5 separate regions of the Homo sapiens genome follow, and all the other regions are linked to region 1. Evidence: promoter capture Hi-C in 16 types of primary human blood cells and fetal thymus (Javierre and others, 2016). All regions are on one chromosome and are shown on one strand. Each heading gives the region's core, a stretch centred on a gene start or on the middle of the fragment in contact. The rest is flanking DNA. Distances are from core to core; before and after follow the strand shown.

The links. Contacts are between HindIII fragments. The CHiCAGO score rates a contact against its expected background, and 5 or more counts as called.
Region 2: a contact is called between a fragment that was not itself captured here and the fragment with the promoter of OR1K1 in region 1, in 2 of 17 cell types (total CD8 T cells and M1 macrophages). The highest score is 5.4, in total CD8 T cells.
Region 3: a fragment that was not itself captured here is called in contact with the fragment with the promoter of OR1K1 in region 1 in 1 of 17 cell types (erythroblasts); the score reaches 5.1 in erythroblasts.
Region 4: a contact is called between a fragment that was not itself captured here and the fragment with the promoter of OR1K1 in region 1, in 2 of 17 cell types (non-activated CD4 T cells and activated CD4 T cells). The highest score is 6.2, in non-activated CD4 T cells.
Region 5: the fragment with the promoter of LHX6 here is called in contact with the fragment with the promoter of OR1K1 in region 1 in 8 of 17 cell types (naive CD8 T cells, naive CD4 T cells, erythroblasts and 5 more); the score reaches 8.8 in naive CD8 T cells.

Annotation. Positions count from the first base shown.
Region 1 is chr9:122,798,720-122,801,419 of GRCh38, forward strand. It overlaps OR1K1 (olfactory receptor family 1 subfamily K member 1), which reads left to right and starts at 1,404. Exons shown (of 1, transcript NM_080859.1): 1 at 1,404-2,354. The coding sequence starts at 1,404. The coding sequence ends at 2,354. The HindIII fragment of the contact is 11,918 bases long and covers 1-2,700 here.
Region 2 is chr9:122,171,716-122,174,415 of GRCh38, forward strand. All of the region lies in intron 3 of MORN5 (MORN repeat containing 5), which reads left to right. Among named protein-coding and RNA genes, the nearest start is that of MORN5, 13 kb to the left of the region's middle. The HindIII fragment of the contact is 3,137 bases long and covers 1-2,700 here.
Region 3 is chr9:122,201,632-122,204,331 of GRCh38, forward strand. It overlaps LHX6 (LIM homeobox 6), which reads right to left. Exons shown (of 10, transcript NM_014368.5): 10 at 951-2,700. Among named protein-coding and RNA genes, the nearest start is that of LHX6, 26 kb to the right of the region's middle. The HindIII fragment of the contact is 1,128 bases long and covers 747-1,874 here.
Region 4 is chr9:122,140,507-122,143,206 of GRCh38, forward strand. It overlaps a transcript of NDUFA8 not described here. Among named protein-coding and RNA genes, the nearest start is that of NDUFA8, 18 kb to the right of the region's middle. The HindIII fragment of the contact is 6,633 bases long and covers 1-2,700 here.
Region 5 is chr9:122,227,644-122,230,343 of GRCh38, forward strand. LHX6 (LIM homeobox 6) reads right to left here and starts at 1,314. Exons shown (of 10, transcript NM_014368.5): 1 at 1,014-1,314. The coding sequence starts at 1,097. The HindIII fragment of the contact is 4,848 bases long and covers 1-2,700 here.

The DNA of each region.
Region 1 (2,700 bases), core at 154-2,653:
GGATATGAGGAGTCATTCAGATTCTCTTGTTCTTTTTTTGTGTGTGTGTGAGATGGAGTCTCACTGTGCCACCCAGGCTGGAGTGCAGTGGCACGATCTTGGCTCACTGCAACCTCTGCCTCCTGGGTTCAAGATATTCTCCTGCCCCAGCCTCCCAAGTAGCTGGGATTACAGGCACGTGACACCACACCTGGCTAATTTTTGTATTTTTTTTTTTAGTAGAGATGGGGTTTCACCACATTGGCCAGGCTGGTCTCAAACTCCTGACCTCAGGTGATCCTCCTACCTTGGCCTCCCAAAGTGCTGGGATTACAGGCACGAGCCACTGCACCCGGCCTTGTTTTGTGTTTTAAGTCTGAAAATATCTGTATTCTTTACTCACACTTGAGTAGTATTTTTGCTGAGTGAAGAATTCCAAGTTCGAAATGCTTTTTTTCAGAATTTGAATATTGTTAAACTGTTCTATAATCTACTGTTGAATTGAAACATTTGATGGCAATCTAATTACATGGATATCATCAGTTCATTGCACCCCATGCCCTTAGGAAGTACTGGAGTCTCCTCTTCATTTCCAGTGTTCTAAAATTCCACTATTTGTGTCTAGGTGTTGTGAGTTCATATTCATTTCAATGTAAACATATGTGCTCTTCAGATTTTTTTTCTAGAGTTTCTTTCTTATGTTTCTCTCCTCCATCTTGGTTTGGTTTCATTTTTTCTTTTCCAAAATAAATGTCCATTGGCCAGATCTTTCTGTGTCGAACCTCACTCTGTTTCATCTTTTCTTTCATATTTTCCTCCTTCCCTGATCTACATCTTGTGCAATATCTTTTGTTCTATTTTTGCTTAAATCACAAACTATCAAAGTTGGACGTGACCTTGCAGATGAGTTACTTCAATTCTCTTATTTCGCAGGTTGAAAGTCTAAGGCCCCACAAGGTCAGGAGATCGAGAACATCCTGGCTAACACGGTGAAACCCCGTCTCTACTAAAAAATACAAAAAAAATTAGCCGGGCGTGATGGCGGGCGCCTGTAGTCCCAGCTACTCGGGAGGCTGAGGCAGGAGAATGGCGTGAACCCAGGAGGTGGAGCTTGCAGTGAGCTGAGATCGTGCCACTGCACTCCAGCCTGGGCGACAGAGCAAGACTCCATCTCAAAAAAAAAAAAAAAAAAAGAAAAGAAAATCTAAGGCCCAGAAAGGAAGAAGGTTCAGGGAGGTGAAATGACTTGCCCATAGTCATACCTGTGCCTAGGGCCAGGGCTACCTGACTCTAAACTCTTGATATTTTCCCATGGCCAGGAAGCCTTGAACAATTTATCCCCTCACCTTTTCCGTTAGACATCGGGGAGGTGACCCATCAATAGAAAGGAGCCCTTCAGGTTCCAGGCGAATAACCAGCCTGCCATGGAGGCTGCCAATGAGTCTTCAGAGGGAATCTCATTCGTTTTATTGGGACTGACAACAAGTCCTGGACAGCAGCGGCCTCTCTTTGTGCTGTTCTTGCTCTTGTATGTGGCCAGCCTCCTGGGTAATGGACTCATTGTGGCTGCCATCCAGGCCAGTCCAGCCCTTCATGCACCCATGTACTTCCTGCTGGCCCACCTGTCCTTTGCTGACCTCTGCTTCGCCTCCGTCACTGTGCCCAAGATGTTGGCCAACTTGTTGGCCCATGACCACTCCATCTCGCTGGCTGGCTGCCTGACCCAAATGTACTTCTTCTTTGCCCTGGGGGTAACTGATAGCTGTCTTCTGGCGGCCATGGCCTATGACTGCTACGTGGCCATCCGGCACCCCCTCCCCTATGCCACGAGGATGTCCCGGGCCATGTGCGCAGCCCTGGTGGGAATGGCATGGCTGGTGTCCCACGTCCACTCCCTCCTGTATATCCTGCTCATGGCTCGCTTGTCCTTCTGTGCTTCCCACCAAGTGCCCCACTTCTTCTGTGACCACCAGCCTCTCTTAAGGCTCTCGTGCTCTGACACCCACCACATCCAGCTGCTCATCTTCACCGAGGGCGCCGCAGTGGTGGTCACTCCCTTCCTGCTCATCCTCGCCTCCTATGGGGCCATCGCAGCTGCCGTGCTCCAGCTGCCCTCAGCCTCTGGGAGGCTCCGGGCTGTGTCCACCTGTGGCTCCCACCTGGCTGTGGTGAGCCTCTTCTATGGGACAGTCATTGCAGTCTACTTCCAGGCCACATCCCGACGCGAGGCAGAGTGGGGCCGTGTGGCCACTGTCATGTACACTGTAGTCACCCCCATGCTGAACCCCATCATCTACAGCCTCTGGAATCGCGATGTACAGGGGGCACTCCGAGCCCTTCTCATTGGGCGAAGGATCTCAGCTAGTGACTCCTGAGGGCAGGACCCCACTGAGGACAGACTGCATCACCCACACTGGCAACTGTTGAACGTGACCCTCTGTCCTCTGCTATGCTCAAAAATCATAACAGCTGTCATTTCCTGAGCACCTGCCCGGAAGCAGATCCTTGCCTGATCTCATTTTATTCCCACAGCCACCCAGGATGCAGATATTATGATCCGGTTTTACACACAAGAAAATTTGTCTTTAGGCTCAAAGATAAGAAGTGACTTTCCAGCCAGGCACAGCGGCTCACGCCTGTAATCCCAGCACTTTGAGAAGCCGAGGTGGTGGATCACCTGAGGTCGAGAGTTCAAGATCAGCCTGGCCAACATGGCGAAAC
Region 2 (2,700 bases), core at 192-2,691, 630 kb before region 1:
CCTGCCCCCTAAGTGCAATGGTCCTATGGATTTTACCTCTGAAATATAGACTTTATTTGTTTATTCAACAAATATTTATTGAGCACTTCCATGTGCCAGGCAGCATTCTCTTCATACTCTTTGCCACTGCCCTGTTCCAGCCCTCCATCATCTTTCCCCTTGATGACCTGACTCCGGAGATCCCCACTTGGCGCCCTTGAGGTCATTCTCCATTCTGCAGTCACTTCCATCTTTTTTTTTTTTTTTTTTTTTTTTTTGAGACAGAGTCTTGCTCTGTTGCCCAGGCTGGAGTGCAGTGGTATGATCATAGCTCACTGTAACTTTGAACTCCTGGGCTCAAGCGATCCTCCTGCCAAGTGATCTGGCCTCCTAAGTAGCTGGAACTACAGGAATGCGCCACCACTCCTGGTTAATTTTTTTTTTTTTTTTAAGTTTCTTGTAGAGATGGGTGTTGCCATGTTGCCCAGGCTCATCTAGAACTCCTGGCCTCAAGCAACCTTCCCTCCTTAACTTGGGATTACAGGCGTGAGCCACCATGCCCGGCCGCTTACATCTTTTAAAGTGTGAATCTGATTGCCTCCCTCCCGCCCCGCCCCTTGAGTGCTCCCTATACCCTCAAGATAAGGTTTCAAATTCTCAGAAACAGTGACATTCTCTGGCTCCTGCTCATGTCCCAGCCTCATCCTAGGCTACCCACCCTTCTCGGTTTTTCTCTCTCCCCTCTTGCGATACTTGCTTTCTTTCTGTTTCTCAAAGAGACCACACTTTTTCCTGCCATTCTCTCTGCCTGGAATACTTTAACCCTCTTACTTCACCCAAATAACTCCTTCCCGTACTTCAGTTCTCAGCTCAACGTCCTGAAGCTGGGAGCCCCTTCCCTGAATTCCCACACTAGGTAAGGTCTCCCTGTGGCATATCACAGCAGCCATGACCTCCTCCCAGGGCTTGGATCGTGAGTGTTCAGCTCGTCTTCCCAAGCTGTGAGCAACATGAGGGCAGGGCCCTAGCACATTGTCTGGCATACAGTGGGTACTCGTTAAAGAGTTATTGTCAAACAGGGATAATGATACTGACATCACAGTGCAGGGTGAAGTATGTGCTTAGGGGAGTTAAGGCAATGACATTAAGAAATATTTCCTAAGCTCCTACTGTATGTCAGACGCTGGCTGGACCCAGGGAGACCAGAGTTAAGAGGACATCATCTCTCCCTTCAAAGAGCTGCCAGTCTAGCTGCAGCTTGAGAACCTTGCAAATCACTCCTCCCGAATTAGTTATGATGGGAGGCCTGGACTTTGCCATGGGCTCTTCACCCCAATTAAGGCTGTAGGCAAAAAGCCCTCAGCCTTAAGCCTTAGCTCTCACACAATGGCTGGTTATGCTAAAGCTAAGCCTCTGCCAGTCTCGTGGTGGCATTTCCCGAACCTGCCTGGCTCTCCCCGAACATGCCTGGCTCTCCCCTACTTCTCCTGTGACCCTCAGAAGAGCAGCTTGATTCTAAGTAGCTACTTCCTTCCCTTGTCACTCCACACTTTGCCTCTTGGGGCTGGCATTGTTAGGGCAACTCGCCCTGCCTGCAAGGCAGGGTGAGGGTTAAAAGTGCCCCGCGACCTCTTCGAGCATCTGTGAGATGGGCATTGGCATGAGGCTTTGGTGAGAGAATGGCTGTAAAGTGCTTGACATGGAGTAAGTGCTCAGTAGTCATTAGCCAGTACATATGGGGTTAGGTTTAGGATCAGGGTCAGTGTCAGGGTTACGGTTAGGTATGTCATTAAGCAACACAAGAGTACCTACTGTGTGCAAGACACTGAGTTGTGGGCATGGTGCTGTGTGCTCAGTGGGCATCCAGCTCTCAGTCTAGAGAACAAGGAATTACAGGAACTATAGTTAGAAGGAACCTGAGAAGTTATTTATTCCAACCTCTCCCTTTACTTGAGCCATGGCGTTTCAAGATACACATACCTAGCGTGCATGACCTAAAAGGTGCACTCAATCTTCTTTCTCTCCCAGAGGTCTCAGTGTCCCTGGTCCTGTGGCTGCACCTAGGCTGTCTCCTCCCCTGATGTTGGCAGCTGAACATACAGGTTCCAGAGCTGGACTGCTTCCTAGCTGGATAACCTTGGGAAAGTTACTTTAACTTCTCTGAGCCTCAGTTTTCTTATCTGTAAAATGGAGCCACAGAGCTGCTCTCAGGATTAAATAAAAGAGGAGCACAATGCCTGGCACATAATAAACATTCAATGAGTGGCAGCCACCGTGGTAATTTTGGCAAGAGTCAAAGTTCTCCACCACCTGCCCCTTGTCCACCTGATCCATTTCTTTTCTGCTGTTCTCCTTCATACGTGCTCTGCTCTACAAGGTTTCCAGAGTGGGGCTTAAGGATCCATGCCTCTGGCCTCTGCCCACGCTTTGAATGCCACCCCTCTTCTGGATCTGATGCTCTCCTATCCATTTGCCAACTCTGACTTACCCTCAGGGTCTGTCTAACTTCAGAACCTGTGCCCTTTGTCATGGTATCCGAAGAAATGGAGGAGGATGGGGTCAAAGGAAGAAGAAGACAGAGGGTCTCGTTCCCAAGACCCTGTTCCCAAGAGCCATGTTCAGAAAGTTCCTTTGGGGCACCGTTTCTGCTGGGTTTGCTTCTTGCCCTGAGTAGGGGGTATTTAGTTCAACAGGGGAGCCAGATAGTCACATGAGCCACCA
Region 3 (2,700 bases), core at 61-2,560, 600 kb before region 1:
CAGAAGGTACATTCATGTAAAGAAACACACAACTAAACTCATATATTTTCAAAGATACACATATATCTAAACACTTGAAAATGGATTGGAAGAGCAGATGTATGAGGAGCAGAAATGGAATCAGGGATGGGAGATTTAAAAACTAGTAGAATAGAGAGAGGGGCCCTGCAGTCAGTGACTCATGTGCACCATGAGCTGAGGTTTCTGAGCAACTCATTTCTGTGCAGGGCCACAGCAGGCCAGGGAAGCCTCTGCATTCTGCAGGGCAGCTGTGCTCTCCACACCAGGAGCTTTGGCTTGAGCAAATGACTCTGCTGCTGAAAGAAATTTGACAACCACCAAAAAGATGCGCTCTCTCACTCCTCAGGTTATGAGGTGGTGGCTCTGGAGCCTGACAAAACCACTATAAGACCCAGTCTTGTGCAGAACCTGGGGCCCTGCTGCCCGTTCCATATTCCCTTAACTTCACCTTATTAAATTCTTCCCCATCTTCCAAACACGCTCCTCTGCACCTCCCTCCCTGCCCCACCCTCTTGCTTACCTATTCTGTGACCTTCTCATCTGATAGGATCCAGCTTTAACACCCACCCCCTTGGCTCCCACAGTATTTGCCAGACTGAGAGCTCCTCCAGGACAAGGTCTGGCTGGGAGCCTTTTCTCAGTGTGCAGAGCCAGCACAGGGCCCAGCAGAGAGTGTATGTTCAGAGACTGGAACAGAGGGCATCAAGCAGCCTGATTTCCTCCAAAGCTTAGATAAGAAGCAGGTGTGACTGAGTACTTACAGAAGAAACCCATCGTCAGGCCTCCACAATCCATTGTTTACTAACTGGGAAATGGTACCCGTTTCCCAGGAAGGAGGATTACACTGTCCAGCAGCCCACATATTCTGGGAGCCAGGGACCTAAGCCCTTCACCAGAGAGCAGGAAAGAAATGGAATCCCATCATGTTCTGGATTTCAGTGCCAGCACTTCTACTTGCATTAACTTTATTACACAAATAAGACATTTACAAAGCACGACATGAAAGGTATGTAACAAAACAGACATTGGTTTTACAAAAAAAGTGCTTACAATTTTTTTTCCGTGTGTGTGTTTTCCCCTTTTTTTGTATTTAAATAAATAGTCTTGATGGCCTGTACGTTCCCAGGCTGCTCTTAACAGGGTAGTGGAGACATGTTTGAACTGTAACATGCTACGGCCACATAATCCACGCAAGGAATAGACCCTGAGGAGAGGCTCAAGGCAGAGTGTGTTGGGTGACCCTGGGTAGGGCTTGGTTGGCCACTTACCACATGGTTGCCACTGGGGCCTTGATGATCAGGAGCAAAAATCAAAGGAAAGATTTGAGCTCCAAGGCCAGGAATTGGGCCCTGGTTGCTCCTGTTAATGTCAGCGCCTAGCACAGGGCTGGGCACAAGTTACCACTGACTGAGTGCTGAGCTGAGCTGTACTCACCACGTTCTGAGTGGTGCCTGCTCTTTGCCCTCAGTCAGCTGTCACTGTCTTTGGAAGGGAGAGGAAGCAGGTTCCCTTCTTAGGCTGCACCTGTGCCTACCCTGCCTGTAGATCCCAGAGCAAGAATGACCTATAGGCTTTCATGTTAAGTGCCAACGTCAAGCATTTGAACTCTGAAACCTTATCCAGACTCAGTGAAATAGAGCTGCCATTGATTAGCAATGTCTGCCATGGGTAAAAACAGAGACAATGGCTGCGTATGTACCATGAACTTGCTTTCCCTGTCTTAGAGTCTCCTTCCAAAAGCAACATAACAGGTTAACCACAGCAGGAAGGCGGACTTGGGCTAAAACATGCTGATTAGCAACCTCTAGTGGAAAATGCATCAGGACACCAGGTAATTCTAGAATTACAGGATAAGCTTGGGACAAATGGGCATCCCCTGAAAACATAAATCATGGTCGTGTGTAGCCTGAGCCCTTTTGTTTGGGGTGGAAGAGTTGTAGCAGGATGGATGTTACGCAGCTGTGTCTGACCTCTGTTCTCAGGGGTGGGTGGGGCTGGCTCCAGGAAGTATTGATTGGGAAGCTCAGAGGCACCAGTTGGAATCCTGAGCTTGGCACACTCACCTAGGCAATGGGCACCCTCTCTCTACTTAGAGATGGATCCAGGGTTAACATTCTGACTGCCATTTCACTGGGCTCTGTTCCCTCTCCCCTATAAGGGATTCCCCTTCCATTGAGAAGACCTGGCCCAAGCACCACTATGAGAGGTCAACAAGTGGCCAACAGGGGTCCCCAACTCTAACCTGTCCAAACATTCAGAAGAGTCATGGCACAGATCGAATACCATCGCTGCTATGTTTCTTACATATATGCTGGATAATTAGGTGGGGGTAGGGTCTCTCCCTGACCCCAGAGTTTTCTCTTTCCTCTCCTTAAAATGGCTAGTGCCTCTTCTGGTCCAATATGTCACCGCCCTCTCCTTGATTTCCAAACCAATGGGGGTCTTTCTTCTCCCCATTCCCTGTCTATCCCCGCTGCCTCCTAGTCTGGGCAGGCCTCCATCTCTGCCCTATTAGGCCTCTCAGGGTTGGTCACTGTCTCTTCTCTTTCTGAATTAACTTGACATAACCAGACAGATGGAAATGATAAAATTAGAACATAGCTTTCCTTTGGGGACATCCCACAAACACTGTAGAGTTTTCCAGACAAAAGCAACAGAGTGGATAACATTGGGGGTTGT
Region 4 (2,700 bases), core at 16-2,515, 660 kb before region 1:
ACAGCACGTAAAGGGTTTGGAAGTCCTCTGGAAAGGTAAACTTCGTGTACAGTTAATCATTTCCTGGATGTTTGTCATATACTGGGCACTAGGATATAGAAATAGAAATAAGATAGAAGTCCAACTCTTGCAGCACTGAGAACAGGAGAGGTAAGACACAGCCAGGGTCACGACAGGTGTTACTCAAATACAGTCTTATAACAATGCTACCATTTATCAACCCTCTACTATGCATTTTGTGTGTGTAACTCACTATATACTCATAGCCATCCCAGAAGGCAGGTACTATTACTGTCATCTCCTTCCCCTTCTATTTTACAGATGAGGACTATAAGGTACAGAAAGGTTAAGTATCTTCTCTAGGGTCACACAGCCATTAAATGACCAGAGCCTGGATTCAAATCCAGACAGCCCAACTCTAGAGCCCTCATGCCCAACCATCATACTACATTGTGTCACGGGAACAAAGGGGCAGGAAAGACCATTTTTGGCTGTAGGAAGGGGATACTTCCTGGGAAAGACACCATTCGTGTTTGCCTTTAGAGATGGGTAGACTTTCAAGAGGCAGCTACGGGGAAGGACTGTTTCCTGGCAAGGGGATAGCATTCGTGAAGATCTAAAAATTCTTGATGAATAGCATGCTGTAGAGTATAGGCTACATAAGAAGAAGTAAGATAATGATGGGGAAATGGGCTAGGCTAGGGCCAGGTTATGGAGTGTCAGAATGCCAGTAAGGATTTGGGCTTTAGTTAGCAGCCATTCGTGAGCCCCTGAAGGCTTCTGAGTAGCAGAGGCACGTGGAGCAAACTTGAGGATGGACTGGAGAGGGAGATGGCAATGGGAGACCACTTAGGAAGTCATTTAATAATCCAGGCAAGGGGAACAAAAACAGCCTAGGAAAGTGACAGTGAGATAAAACAGGAAGTAGCAAATGAGAGCGATTACAGAAGAAACTCAACAGGACTTGATGTTGGATTGGAACTTGGAGTAAACCGAAGAGTCAAAGATGCATCTCAGGTTATTTGACACTGGGAGGATGGAGACACCATTAACTCAGATAGGGAAGACAGGAACAGGCTTGGCAGAGGAAAGGAGTCAGATAAATTTCCTTTGGGGATATAAGGAATTCATCTCATTATTCTCAAGCCAAACCACCAGGAAGATTTTCTATTATTTGAAGTCCTGTTCAGGAATCCTTCCCACTAACTGCTTTCCAATTGTTCTGTGACCTTTTACCTACTGAAATTGAGACAGGCACTTGTTGTGAGAGACTTAAGAAATTATTATATTTAATTACTTAGACTCTTCTGTCCTAGAAGGCTATGATGTCGTGTAATCCCATCGCGAGTACAGGAAAGCCAAAAGTCAGTTTCTTTGTTCAAGGAATTCAAAGCAAGGTGGGGAGGGGGGAGGCAAGAACTGCTGTCCAACTTGGGCAAAAGTTACATCCTAGAATTGAATTTGAAACCATTAACAGTTCAAGACGCGTTGCTCTGGTTCTAAAGAGGTGAATTAACATTTGGGGAGTGAACAGTGCTAGAAGTTGCAGCAGGTAAATTAGTCATAGATCCTTCTCAGAAAGACGGTATGGTTTATTCCCTCATTACCTGTGTGATCTATGGACCAGTGCCCTTAGCACCAAGAAACAGCTTATTAGAAATCTCAGGACCTACCGCAGACCTACTGAATCAAAATCATTTTACTAGGATCTCCATATACACCCATTTATTTTGAGAGTAGGGGCTTTGGAATCAGATGTATCTGGGTTTAAATCTCAGCTTAGCCACTTACTACTTACTAGCAGGTAGCCTCCTGTACTTGCTTCCTCATGTCTAAAATCAGTATGTCGTTCTACACCTTGGCTTCACATCGGAATAGGCTGGGAGTGCTTTCAAAAATTCCAAGCCCAGGCCACACTACACACCAATTACAACAGAATCTCTGCGGGTAGGATCCAAACATCAGGATTTAAAGGCCTCTCAGGTGATTCCAATGTGCACTCAAAGCTGAGAACCACGCATGGCTTTGAAGAATAGGAGTGTGGCCATTGGAACCAGACAATCTTTACTTGTATCCTGTATCTACCACTTCTTATATATGAGACTGGGGCTTCTTAACCTCTCGCTAAACTTTAACTTCCTTCATCTGTAAAATGAATATGACCTGTAGTACCTCGTTCAAAGGACTCTGGGCATTGAAGGAGGTGAAACATGTAAAGCACTTAGCACAGTGCACAATATTATTATTTATGCAAGGCCCAGCTTCCTTTGCAGAAGGAACCTAGGAAGCAACATGTGGGTTGAAGTATCATATAAACACCAATCTGCAGCCATGCTCATACCTTACCCACCAGAGGGGAATTCCAATTACTTGGCCACCAAAACGTTAGTGGGTTTTGCCTCAGCTATTGAAAAAAATGCAAAAAAAAGTCTTATTTTTCATTAGAGAATCTGAGGCAAAAGTTGGTTGGCAAGTAACTTTTGCAGAACACGTGGGGGTTCTGCTGGAAGCATCCAAAATGCTTCCGGATGTGGGGTCAGCACCAGGTGCAGAAGCGGCCATGGCAGATCACACAGTGCTTTTTCTTTGAACTGTCCTAGCACGTCAGGCAACAGACCCTGCACCTCATCTGCCTGGTGCCTCACAGCAATCTCCCCACTTAGAAAATCTAGAATGAGCTCGAAGGGCCTTTACAAAGAC
Region 5 (2,700 bases), core at 64-2,563, 570 kb before region 1:
CTCTAATGAAGCAATTTGAATTTGGATTGGATTTTTTCCCTCTCTCTCCCCCTCTCCCTGCACTTAACCCGTGGCTCTTGAAGTAATCGCTTAGTTCCCTTGCAATCCAAGCCTCTGAGGGGGGAAGAAAAACACGCGCACACACACACAAACTACCTGCAATTAGAAATTGTCGTGAATGCCCAAGATAAGAGGTAGCCAGAGTGTCAATTCCAACTGTCAATCAGTGAGATCCATCAGGCCGCCCAAAGAATTGCAAATTTGATTTTTTAATGGTAGTAATTAAAAATCGAATTTTTTCTCTCTCCACCCGCCCCCCCACCCCACTCCCCTTCCTCGCTCCCTTCTCCTCTCGGCACAAAATGCAAAAAGGAGAAAAGAGAGAAAGAAAGAAAATAAAAAAGAGATGGGTGAGGGGCGGAGGGTGGTTGAAGAAAAGAAAACCCCGAGCGCGGTGAGCACCCGCCCGCCCGCCCGCCTGACACGCGCGGCGAAATTGAAGCAGCTATATTGACACGGATTCAGGCGCCTTTCGAGGGCCAGTCGGAGGGAAACCCGGAGCAAAAAGAGAGCGAGATCGGGGCGAAACGGGACCAAAAAGAGAAAAGAGAGGCGCTCAAGGGGAGGAAAAAGCACCCTCCAGCCCCTCGGCGCGCCGGGTACCGGCCCCGCGTCGGGATTCTCAGCGCTGCGCCGGCACAACCCCCGGCGCATCGGCGCTATCAGCGCCTATTCAGACGGACAATACCGGCCTCGCCTCCTCTTGATTCGCCTGTGTCTTTACTAAATCGCTTTTTGAGAAATTCCTCCAACATTTGCATAATGTGTTCCCGCTTTCCGCGACCCCCCCCCCCCGCTCGCGCGCGCGCTCCCACACTCACAAGCACACACTCACAGGCGCACCCTCGTACCCCTCCTTCCTGCAACCGCCCGCCACCCTGCTCGGCCCGGCTGGGTCCCGGACCCTGCCCGACCCCGGCCCGGGCCGCTCACCCAGTCGTTCGCCGGCTCACCTGGTCGGTGGCGGGGCCGCCCTCGGCCGGCAGCCGGCAGCCCTCGGGCAACGCCGGGGCGGCGTTCTCATGCTTCCAGTACATGGGCCGGGGAACCTCGGGCTCAGCGGGCGCGCAGCGCGGAGAGCTGCGCCGAGGGGGACCACAGCCGCAGTGGGAGCAGAGGCTGCTGCAGGAGCAGGAGGAGAGCCGAGGCGCCGGCCCCGCCGCCCCGGGCCCGGCCTCAGCCCCCGCCCCCGGCCCGCGCGCAGCCCCGGCCTCCCTGGCTGCTGCCGCCGCTGCCTCGGAAGAAGGTCCCGACAAACTTGGAGAGGCCCCCGCCCCCTCCTTCTTCTCCTCCTCCCCCTCTTGGTAGTCCTCCTCCTCCTCTCCCTCCTCCTTGTCCTCCTCCCCCTCCAGCTGCAACGGCGGCCGCCCTGCCGCTGGAGCCCCGCTCGGTTCAAGATGAGTCATGCGTGACCAATCCCCTCCCCGCCAAGGGAGAGCAAGACACACACGACGAGGCAGAGACCCAGAGAGAGAGACACACACACAGACACAGAGACACACAGAAACTCAGAGCTGCCGACAGAGAGACTCGGAGACACGCCAGTACACAAAGGCACCGGCGGGCACACATCCACCCAGCTCTCACTACCGCTCCTCCCTCAAGGGGCACCCATCTTCCTCAGACACTGCCCCACTCACAGGTACAGGAGGGACCCATGGCCATACCATCTGCGGAGATAGATTCCGTAGGAGGTCACACGTTATTACACTGTGTTGATGCAATCCCATGCCTGGTACATTTGTGTACACACTAATGTAAGTGATTACCTGTTCACATCATTTACACGGGCACGAGGCACCACACTTACTCTCACACACCTGCACAGATACCTCTGCTCTATAAGAACCAGACAGTGCACCAGCTCCCAGGGACTGAGGTGAAACGGGAGGGTAGTTTCCCTGAATTCTCTTGGAAGGGATTGCTTGGCACATTCCCCTTCCCTTCAGGATTTGCTTAACCACACAGTCCAATGCCCATCCCTTCTTCTCTAGGGTTCTACTGACAATGAGAATGGTAGGGAAGGCAGGAAGGCCCAGGCATTTAGACAGAAGACACTGCCCCCAGACACACAGACACAGAACCTTCAAACCCAAAGATGGAGCCTTACACACACTAACGCCCTGCAGCATACACAAGTGGACACTTAGAGTCTCAGCCCCCTTCTCCACACACAAACTGAGCCTAAAGAGACACATGTAAACATACATCATCTAAAAACAAATAAGCACACTCAGACATAGATCCAGCCCTACAGACACCATGACAGCCTACCCTCACCACATCACACATGTCATCACCTCCATAATTGCCCTCATTTACAGATGTAAACACCCCCCCACACACAATTGTTCTTCCATTTGTACACACAGCCATACTCAAGAGGGCACAGATTTTCACAGAGCTCCAAACCCATGTATAACCTTATGTCCTCTACTCAGGCACCCTCAAATATGTACTTACATCCTTACAGATGGTGAGACAACTATTGATAGGCATTTATAGGCAGACACATCACACACACTTCTGCAGCCATAGATTCCCAATAGTTATAGTCTCAGTTTGCACACACACAGGCAGGTTCTGACAGGCGCAGGTAGTAGAGGATGCCTGCACACCAACACGATACTAAAGATCCAC